Linked DNA regions of Homo sapiens: region 2 is linked to region 1. Evidence: promoter capture Hi-C in 16 types of primary human blood cells and fetal thymus (Javierre and others, 2016). All regions are on one chromosome and are shown on one strand. Each heading gives the region's core, a stretch centred on a gene start or on the middle of the fragment in contact. The rest is flanking DNA. Distances are from core to core; before and after follow the strand shown.

Region 1 (5,508 bases), core at 922-3,421:
ATTTGAAGGTGGTTAGATATTTTCTTTTTTCTATTTTCAAACATTCTATGTTACTTTTACTATTTTTGTTTGTTTTGATAAAGAAGACCTTCACCCCTCTTTCAAGATCCATTTAAAACGCCGTCAACTACTGTCCTATGATACAATGAAGTGTATGGACTTTGAAATATCACAGACCTAGGTTTGAATCTGTCCATTAATGTAATCCAGCAGGCACCACCATAGTGACCCTGGACAAATTATTTAACCTTACTGAGTCTTAGTTTTCTCACTTGTTAGAGACAATGCCACCAATATCAATGGCTTGCATGAGGATTAAATAAAATACTATCTCCAAAATATCTAGCACAATGACCACCATTAACAAAGTCTCCCATATAAAACTGTCTTCCTTTCTTGGATTCTTGCCTAATTCCACCAACCTGAAATAACTGTTCACTCCATAAGCTTTAGTTTTTCCTAATAAATTTTATCATGTTTTTCTGCCACATTTGGTGACTTGTCTTTTGGTAAACCTCTGGATATCAGTAAAGGTGTCCTACACATTGATCTCCATTCATTCTGACTAGCAGACAACCTTCAAAACAGTACTCATACAGTGTGATTGTTATGTGAATTTTGAGAAAATCCAATATTAAAAAAGCTGACAGGTGTGAAACAGAGAGTACACTTCACCAAAAAAATCAACATACTGGCTAACTAAATGACGAACTAAAACTCACTTCTCCAACCTAACAAAACCATCTCTTAAAAGGTCTTTGTTTTCAATAAGCTGATAGATCAAATTAAGCCCCCAACTTCAGTTCTATCCCAGTATAATACTCAAATCTTACCACTTTTTTAAAAATACAGAAGTGGCTGGGCGCGGTGGCTCACGCCTGTAATCCCAGCACTTTGGGAGGCCGAGGCAGGCAGATGACCTGACGCTGGGAGTTCGAAACCAGACTGACCAACATGGAGAAACCCCGTTTCTACTAAAAATACAAAATTAGCCGGGTGTGGTGGTGCCTGCCTGTAATCCCAGCTACTCAGGAGGCTGAGGCAGGAGAATTGCTTGAACCCGGGAGGCAGAGGTTGCAGTGAGCCGAAATCCCGCCGTTGCACTCCAGCCTGGGCCACAAGAGCAACACTCCGTCTCGAAAATAATAAATAAATAGGCCAGACGCGGTGGCTCAAGCCTGTAATCCCAGCACTTTGGGAGGCGGAGGCGGGCATATCACGAGGTCAGGAGATAGAGACCATCCTTGCCAACACAGTGAAACCCCGTCTCTACTAAAAATACAAAAAATTAGCCGGGCGTGGTGGCGGGCGCCTGTAATCCCAGCAGTATACTCAGGAGGCTGAAGCAGAAGAATCGCTTGAACCCGGGAGGCGGAGCTTGCAGTGAGCCGAGATCGCGCCACTGCACTCCAGCCTGGCGGACAGAGCGAGACTCCGTCTCAAAAATAAATGAATAAATAAATAAATAAAAATAAAAAATAAAAATACAGAAGCAAATGAAAATATCTGAACTGAAAAGTTTAGCTATGTTAAGAAATATTCCTAATAACACATTTACAATTTGAAAAATCCCCTTTACCCTTTAGGGCAGTATGACAAGCACACACAAAAATAAGTGCAGTGATAACACCTTGCCACCCTGGAGTCTTTCTGAAATTTTAACGACACACCAGGGCTAGGGAGTGGGAGGGTAAGGGGACTAAAAGTTCTAGATAAAAAGCCACTTTAAAAACCAAATAAGGTTCTAAGTGACCCTGATATAGGTAACCATGCCACTAGCTTTAAATATAAAAAAAGAGTTCCTACAGTTTTAAATTTAAAATTAAAAACAAAAAAAAAACTCCTGCAAGAATAAAGTCAATGATTTTCAGGATCCCAAACACGTCTCTACTTATAACCACCCATATCTTGGAATTAAAGCTTGTTAGTCAAAGTCACAGGACATATTAACCTAACTCGTTAGTGAACACTCATTAGCTCAATTCAAGCTCCAGAACATAGTTTCGGAATACAGCACCCGTTCTGCCTGGCCGACTGCCCTGGTCAGCACAGGCACTCGCTCTCCAGTCTGTCGCTAAGCTGGATTTGATTTTTAACGCTTTACAAAGAGCTTTGACATTAAGGAAAAAGACGTGACACTTACCTTGAGAAGCGAAGGCAGCCTAACCAACTTCCGGTTTTGTTACAACTTGTATCACATTTCAGCAGCTGGGTGGAGCCAGTTAAGCCTTGAGCCAAAAGGGAACCTTTCCCAAACTAAGCTGCAGAACTTGATTTGCAAGACCAGTGCTAGTTTTAGGACTCCATTTCTGAAAACTTAGAATTCTGTTTTACACTAAGGAACAGTGTTTGCCAACTAGTACCTACTTCGCCACAAAAATTATAGTTTTTGTGTTTAATTGCAAAACTATTTGAAAATACCTGTTCTATAATAGTGCTAAGTAAAAGCAAATTAACTTTTAAAAAGTGGAAAAAGATCAGATTGCATAGAACCGAAACCTTTCTGCAGTGTGAATGATATAATGCAAAAGAAATCTTTTATTTTGCAAATTACCCCTGAAATTTAGGAGTTTTGTTTCTTTTTAAGCCTTTAATCTGTTTCACAAGACTCTTTTGCAAAAGAAAAATTTTAGGGCTAGGAAAAGACAATGTAATTGAATTTTTAACAATCTTTGTTTTTATTTTGTTTTTTGTTTTCCTGTTTTTTACTTTTTTTCTTCTCTTTAATGTAATTGAAAATATTAAACATTCCATTTCAGACCTTGAGTGACATTGTAATTGCCCAGTGGGTTCACCTTGCCCGCTGTCTAGACAGAGCCGATTTATCAAGACAGGGGAATCGCAATGGAGAAAGAGTAATTCACGCAGAGCTGGCTGTGCAGGAGACCGGAGTTTTTTGTTTTGTTTGTTTGTTTGTTTTGTTTTGTTTTGTTTTGAGACGGAGTCTCTGTCTGTGGCCCAGGCTGGAGTGCGGTGGCATGATCTCGGCTCACTGCAGCCTCCCCGTCCTAGGTTCAAGCGATTCTCCTGCCTCAGCCTCCCCAGTAGCTGGGACTACAGGCGCCCGCCACCACGCCCGGCTAATTTTTGTATTTTAGCAGAGACAGGGTTTCACCATGTTGGCCAGGCTAGTTTGGAACTCCTGACCTCAAGTGATTCCACCTGCCTCAGCCTCCCAAAGTGCTGAGATTACAGGCATAAGCCACCGCGCCCAGCCCGGAGTTCTATTATTACTCAACACAGTCTCCCCAGGATTCGGAGATCAGAATTTTTAAAGATAATTTGGCGGGTAGGGGCTTGGGAAGTGGGAGTGCTAATTGGTCAGATTGGAGATGGAATCATGGGGGGTCGACGTGAGGTTTTCTTGCTGTCTTCTGTTCCTGGGTGGGATGGCAGAACTGGGTGAGCCCAATTACCGGTCTGTGTGGCATCAGCTGATCCACCGAGTCCAGGCTCTGCAAAATATCTCAAGCACTGATCTTAGGTTTTACAATAGTGATGTTATCCCCAGGAGCAATTTGGGGAGGTTCAGACTCTTGGAGCCAGAGGCTGCATGACCCCTAAACCATAATTTCTAATCTTGTAGCTAATTTGTTGGTCCTGCAAAGGCAGACTGGTCCCCAGGCAAGAAGGGGGTCTATTCAGGAAAGGGCTACTACCAATTTTGTTTCAGAGTCAAAACATGAACTGGATTCCTTCCCAAAGTTAGTTTGGCATATGCCCAGGAATGAACAAGGACAGCTTAAAGATTAGAAGCAAGACAGAGCCAGTTAGGTCTGTTCTCATTCACTGCCATAATTTCCTCAGTTATAAAAGGCTTTGCAAAAAGCCTTTTTGCAAAGGCGCTTTCAACATATGCAGACTGGAAAATAGATTATGACCCATGCCTTGACCTGTGAATGCTGGTTATCAATCAACCCCAGTAAATTCTTTAAACCATTTTTAAAGAGAGAACAGAGAAAGGAACACCATCACGTTACGCTTTCTCTTAAAGAACTAGTCACAATTAACAAAAGCCCCTCTCTACAGGTTATTAAAGAGAGGCTTTAAATAAAGATGACCCAGAGTTGGTTTGCTATCCTAAAGCTGCTGGGAACATGAATAGTTTTAAACTAAGTCAGCTGATCTTCAGTTCTTCAAAGCCTCAAGTGGTGAAATAGCCTTCTGCAGATAACAGACCCTTTCCAGGAACTGTCCCCATTGCATGCCAAAAGTATGATATGTCTATAAAACAAAAACTCTTCGACTATATTATCAGAACCCTACATTCTAAAGCACTCTTAGGAAGTGGTACGACACAGTGGGAAGAACTGAATGGAGAGAGAGGCTAGCTTTGTCTAAAACAACCCTTTCACTAGGCTCAGTGGCTCACATCTGTAATCCCAACACTTTGGGAGGCCGAGGGGGGTGGATCACGATATCAGGAGTTCAAGACCAGCCTGGCCAAGATGATGAAACCCTGTCTCTACTAAAAACACAAAAATTCGCCAGATGTGGTGGCACACGCCTGTAATCCCAGCTACTCAGGAGGCTGAGGCAGGAGAATGCTTGAACCTGGGTGGCAGAGGTTGCAGTGAGCAGAGATCACACCACTGCACTCCAACCTGGCCAATAGAGCAAGACTCCATCTCAATAAATAATAAATAAATAAAACACCACCCCTTCTGAGACTATCATTTCTCTCCATGTCCCCAGCTATAATTCCACCTTATCATTCCCTTCCAGATCACCTCTACCAGACTCTTCATCAACTCATCAGTTGTCACAAAGGAGACCAATTTTATTAAAATTAGTTTAATGGAGCTTAGATCCTAAGAAGTTAAAGCTACCCTACTGGTTACCATTCTCATGCCTCTATATCAGCAGTTCTCAAACTTTTTTTATTTCAAGGTCCCTTCACAACTTTGAAAGATTATTATGTACATCAGAGATGCTTCTTTATGTGGGTGATATCTATTAATATTTTTGTATTAAAAATTAACAGAAAAAGTTAAATATTCATAAATTTGTTTTTAAGTGACAATAATAGTTACATGTTAACACAGTATCTTTTCTGTTGCTTATATTATTGTTTTTCAACAATAAAAAATTTAATGAAAAAGTATAGCATTTGACTAGTCTAAAAAAAAGAAAAAGTATCATTGTTTAAATTGTTGCAAATCTCTTTAATGTCTGGCTTAATAGAAGACAGTAGGATTCTCATATCTGCTTGCATTCAATCTTTTGTGATATCATGTAACACCTCATGTAGCCACTGGAAAACTCCACTGTATATTCATGAGAAAATGAGAATGAAGAAGGCAAATAAAGTATAGCAAGAACAATAATTATCATTTATTGAACACTCATTTTAACCAAGGCACATGTATTATCCTATCCATTATGAACATCCTTCAGCTGAGAATGTTAAGGACCTGTGTGGCTAAGTAAATTGCTGAAGATTAGACAGAGAAGTGGTAGACAGGATCCTAAGCCAGAACCACTGTCTCCACTGAGCACCACCGCCAA
Region 2 (5,508 bases), core at 1,046-3,545, 730 kb after region 1:
TGGATCCTCACAGGTGTGCTGAGGCTGTTGTATTGACTCATAGTGTATATAAAAGTATTGTATGCCAGTCTCTGGCAATCTAAGCTAGTTCCTCAGCTTTACCTTCTATTTTTGAAAATTGAATAAGCAATTCTTACCTGTGCCTGTAAAGTTATAAGCCATCTTGACTTTGAAGTCTCAAACTACTCACCAGAATCAATGATGGGACTTGACTTCTGATCACATTTGAAACCTGCTGATAGCTCAGATTGGGTTTAAAAAAAGGGGAATCAAAAGGTGCAAACGTTTGTAAATATCATCATTTTTTAAAATTACAATATACTGGGTGGCAAGGCCCCAGTCCACAAATTAATATAATGGTAAGCAGCAACATTTTTTTGACTTATAAATAAGAGATACACATAGCAGAAGGATGTTTTGCCGGTATGGTAAACACCAAACAGATTCACAGGGAATTTAGTTTTCATGTGTAATCTGGGAGAAACTATAACACTGTAGTCAGATTGGGTCTTTACTGAGTTCCTGATCTAAGGAATAAAGGTTCATATTGCTCAAAGATGAGGTTATCATTTTCTGCAGTATTATGAGAAAAGGGGATAGCAAGCCTGGTTCTGGGTAATCTAATATCCATTTGCAAGGTTTCTCCCTTTTGCTAATTTAATATTTTTACTGGTTTGATACCATTTGATGTGCCTTGTGGTCTTTGTGAAAACGTGTGCCCTGGTGATATGTGAGCATCTGTCTTTGATTTCCGCAGGTCAGATGATACAAAAGGACATCCAAGAGCAGTGTCCCAGCCTTTCAGGTACTGCCAATGAGGTTGAATGTCTAGTAGCTTGTAAATATATGCTTCCTTTTAGCCATGTTTCCCAAGCCTCAAACACGAAAATCAACTGTACACAGCTTTTTGCTTTTTAAATTGCTTCCTTTCTCTTCCATATTGTTTATGCCTTATTTTTAATGCTCACCATGAAAAGGATTTTTTTTTTTTTTTGCTGGCATGCCCACAGGACTGTGTGGTGGTGGTAGAGACATCAATGTATTTTGTGCTCTTAGCACATTGTGGAGGGGGGTCTCTAAGAAACTACAGGTGCTCTGCATTTCTCCTTTTGATCTAGTGATAGATCTAGCTTAAATTGTTTTCATTTTTATTGGTCCTCTTTCTATTTTTTCCCAATCAGCATGCATTTGTTCCCCTCCTTTATTTTCTAGTCTTATTTTCTTCTCTACCTTCCTTTTCAAGAGGAAACACTAGTTTTGTTCTGTGGAAAAATGTCCCCTGAAACCTCCGGGAGTGGTACCACGATCTGGTGTGGCACTCAGTGAGAGCAGCAGAGATGTTTGGCCAAGAGTGTTGATGAAATAGGGGAAAGAAGCTCTTCACCTGCTGGTTCTTATTCATTCTTAGGTTTAGGACTGTTTAGTGAGGGCAGTTCAAAGAGGGCTTAAGCATCTGGAGCTTCTGGAGAAGCTTGAATTGCTTCTTTGTAGAACTTTTTCCATTTTTATTTTGGAGGCAAAACATGAGCTTAAGCTGCTGTTTGGTGGGTGGATAATGAAGGAAAGAGTCTACAAGTAAATAAGCTTTTCTCTAGCAGAGAGGAAAACAGAGTTCAGCTATATTAAATGATTTATCTAGGATCAAACAGATTTGGTATTAAGATTATGACTGGGCCCTGGCTCTCCAGATTTGAGTCAGTTTTTCCTTTTTGTCCACTTGGCAAATATTTATTGAGCACCTGCTCAGAATCCAGCATTGTGCTAGCCACTGGGAATTGAAATGAGAGAGAAGTCTTTGCCCTCAAGGAGCTTACATCAGGTAACGGAGATAGACAAATATCAGATGACGCAATATGGTATAAGAGCTATGATTTACTATGAGAATATATGATGAAACATATATTGCTTGGGAACTCAGAGAAGGCTTGCTTGATGAGGTAACAGCTGATTGGACCATTAAAGGCTAAGTGTGATAGAAGTGGGTCAAATGGACATGGAAGATAAGAGGTAGAGGATGGGAAGGAGATGAGAAAATGCCATGGCAGGGAAATAGTCTGTGCAAACTGGACAAACGTGTGGACGCTACCCATTCAGGGAACTCAAGGCATTCTTATGTAGCTGGAATAGAGATGTCCAATGGGAAAGTGTGGAAAGAAGGACCTGTCCAGATTTTGGAGGGGCTGCATATGCCAAGCCAAAGAGTTTCTATAGGCTTGTGGGCACAGAGGAAAGATGAAATGATTTAAACAGTGAAGTGACATGATTCACTGAAGGCTATTCACAATTTGAATTGTTTAGGAATAAGATTAAAAGATGCCACTTGTAGTCAAGGATAAGAAATAAAGATGGCCTCGCCTAGGGTAGTTTGCAGGGTGAAAAGAAGAGGATGGATTTGACATATAAGAAGTGGAATCTAAGGTTGTGCTGAGGAATGAATACCAGTGGCAAAGAAGGGCAGTGGCCCAGGAAGACAGGATCATGGCTAAGAGCAGGACTTTGACTCCTGGGTTTGAATCCCAGGTCTGCTGTTCACTAACTGAGTGACTGGATGAGGAACTTTTCCTCTGTGTTTTTGTTTCCTCACTTGTAAAGTAAGGACAGCAATATTAGCTACTTCTTAGGGTTGTTGTAAGGACAAGCTGAGCTGACATCTTTAAGGTTCTTAGAACAGTGCCTGGCAGAGTTAGTGCTGTGTCAGTGGTGGCTGCCGCTGCTGTCATCACTATTAGGACCTGTCATGATATCTTTAAGATTGATTAATTTATCTTGTCCTAGTTAGTTGCTGAATGTTTAAGATAAGACTACTTTATTGTGACACTTTGCCATTTTTCTCCGCAAAGATTAAGTTCATCCCTGCAAGGATCTGCAGTTACTTTGAAGACATCAAAAATGGCACTGTCCCCTTCAGCAACGGCCAAGAGGATCAACAGAACTTCTTTGTCTTCGGGTGCCACTGTAAGAAGGTAATTTTTCTCTCCCTCTTCTAAGGTGCTGGTTTGAGGTAAAGGAAGCTTGCAGCAGGCGATGAGTTTAGCTGCAGTTTTGTCAGAGGAGGGGACAAGGGAGAAGAGGAGAAACCACGGAAGACCCTGTGATGTTCTGGGGCTTCCGTTCCTGTCTTGGGAAGGCAGGAGACAAGGTTGTGGAGGGAATGGTGCAAAGCGTGCTCTTCTTCTAGAGAGTGAGCAGCTGGCTTAGTGTGATCCAGAAAATGGAGTTCAGTTGTATATACAAATGATATTGTCATTTCTCAGCTGACACGTATAGGCAAGGGAGAACTAACCAAAATGGGTAGGGATGTTTGATGTAGTCATGTGATTGAATATGTACTTAAGTCTGCTTTTAATGCTCCCCTTACATGGCCCTTTTCCTTTACTTCCCACCCCAGGGTAAATAAAACTCTGTGATGTTCTATTTCAAGATCTGTAGTCAAAGTGTTTTAGCCAGTTTCTTGGGTCCTAGTTAACTGCTTTTGACAAAGCAACTTGATATGTATAACTCAAGGCTACATATTATCATAACACCAAGGGTGATGAGGAAGCCATCCTGACATCATTCACATTGATCAGATTCATCTTCATCATGTTCCCCTAATGTCATGAGTATGTGTTTTAGAAACGTGAGCTCTGTGTGATTGTACATTGTTGTCTGTTTTTTCCCTCCTCACTTGTGTTTTCCATTCAGCTTTTCCATAAACTCCCGGCTAGCCAGTTCTCTAGGGAACTTGAATGCTGCAACAGATGATCCAGAGAACAAAAAGACCTCCTCATCCTCTAAGGCAGGCTTCACAGCCAGCCCGTTTACCAACCTCTTGAATGGCAGCTCCCAGCCAACTACCAGAAATTACCCTGAGCTCAACAATAATCAGTACAACAGAAGCAGCAACAGCAACGGGGGCAACCTGAACAGCCCCCCAGGCCCCCACAGCGCCAAGACAGAGGAGCACACCACCATCCTCCGACCCTCCTACACCGGGCTTTCTTCTTCTTCAGCGAGATTCCTGAGCCGTTCTATCCCTGTAAGTGCGCAGACACCACCTCCTGGTCCTCAGAACCCTGAATGCAACTTCTGTGCCTTGCCTTCCCAGCCGAGGCTGCCACCAAAGAAATTTAATAGTGCCAAGGAAGCCTTCTGAGCGATGCCTTCCCTCTGTGCTGTGAAACTGTCTATGCACTACATTCTGCTAGCTCCTCTTCAAGTAAACGCCAAGTCACAACTGGGTTTTCTTCCTTCCTTCTTTTTCTTCTTACCCCCAACTCCTTTTTAAGTAGTTTCTCTTAAAAGGGAAATAGCTTTCATTCTTTTGATTATGGGCATTGTTGACTTCAGTTACTTTTCAGTTATGTTTCCAATCACTCTGAATATCTGGTGCTAAGCCAGGAGCTGATTCATACAGTGGATAGCATTTGCTGGGGGTGCGCTGGTTTGGGGAATTATGGCTTTTTCCGCATCATATATCAGTGAATTAATTTTGGAGTATTGAAACGTGGAAGGTGCTGAGTGAACAGTATCTTCCTAGAACTAAGCATTAGGCCCTTGAATATTTCACCTCCTGCAAGGAACTGACCCAGAATAAAATAAGTGGCAAGTGGAAGATATTTCTAAGAAGGGCTTATAGGTAGGTACCTGGGATGCAAGGTGGGGAGCAAGCAGAGTATCAGGAAGGTGTTTAAAAGTAGCCAGCACTCTTCTAGAGAAAGGTGGGAAGACCTCCAAACACATCTTACCAATGAGATCTCTATTTAGGTTACCAAGCTCTCTTTAACAATCAACAATACCTGGTAAGGTAAACTCTGTTGGTAAACTCCTATTATGAATTACTTTAATAACCTGTTTTGATTGCCTCTAGGGGTATTGAGATCTATAGGAATGTGAGTTTCGATTTGAGAGGAACAAGGACAAATAGGAAGGAGAAATCAATCCTATGTATTAAGGAAATATGAAGCATGGTACATATACATACAGTGTTGCAACACTGATCGTACTCAGGGCATGAACAAGCCCTGGGTGTCTTGGAAGGCTCTGGCCTGGTGTCGCTTCACACTTGCTATTCTTGAAACATTTCCTCAGCCATCATCTAGGGAGTGCCTGCTTCTGTAGAGAAGAGGGGAGGAGGAAAGGTGCTGGTGGCAGTGTGCTGCGTATGGCCCACTCAGCAAAACAGGAGCCCCATGGTTCATTCTTAATGATATCTACTTTCTTTAGTTGACAGTTTAGAAACCATGAGGATGGGCCAGGCTCAGTGGCTCATGCCTATAATCCCAGGACTTTGGGAGGCCAAGGCTGGTGGATCACCTGAGGTCAGGAGTTCGAGACCAGCCTGGCCAACATGGTGAAACCCCGTCTCTACAAAAAATACAAAATTAGCTGGGCGTGGTGGCACGCACCTGTAATCCCAGCTACCATAAGGCAGGAGAATCCCTTAGAACCTGGGAGGTGGAAGCTGCAGTGAGCCAAGATCGTGCCACGGCACTCCAGCTGGGTGACAGAGCCACTCTCAAAAAAAAA

The links. Contacts are between HindIII fragments. The CHiCAGO score rates a contact against its expected background, and 5 or more counts as called.
Region 2: a fragment that was not itself captured here is called in contact with the fragment with the promoter of FRRS1 in region 1 in 1 of 17 cell types (erythroblasts); the score reaches 6.3 in erythroblasts.

Annotation. Positions count from the first base shown.
Region 1 is chr1:99,764,464-99,769,971 of GRCh38, forward strand. FRRS1 (ferric chelate reductase 1) reads right to left here and starts at 2,172. Exons shown (of 17, transcript NM_001361041.2): 1 at 2,144-2,172. The HindIII fragment of the contact is 6,315 bases long and covers 1,919-5,508 here.
Region 2 is chr1:100,495,245-100,500,752 of GRCh38, forward strand. CDC14A (cell division cycle 14A) reads left to right here. Exons shown (of 16, transcript NM_003672.4): 13 at 758-805; 14 at 2,841-2,963; 15 at 3,685-4,018. Among named protein-coding and RNA genes, the nearest start is that of GPR88, 40 kb to the right of the region's middle. The HindIII fragment of the contact is 1,427 bases long and covers 1,583-3,009 here.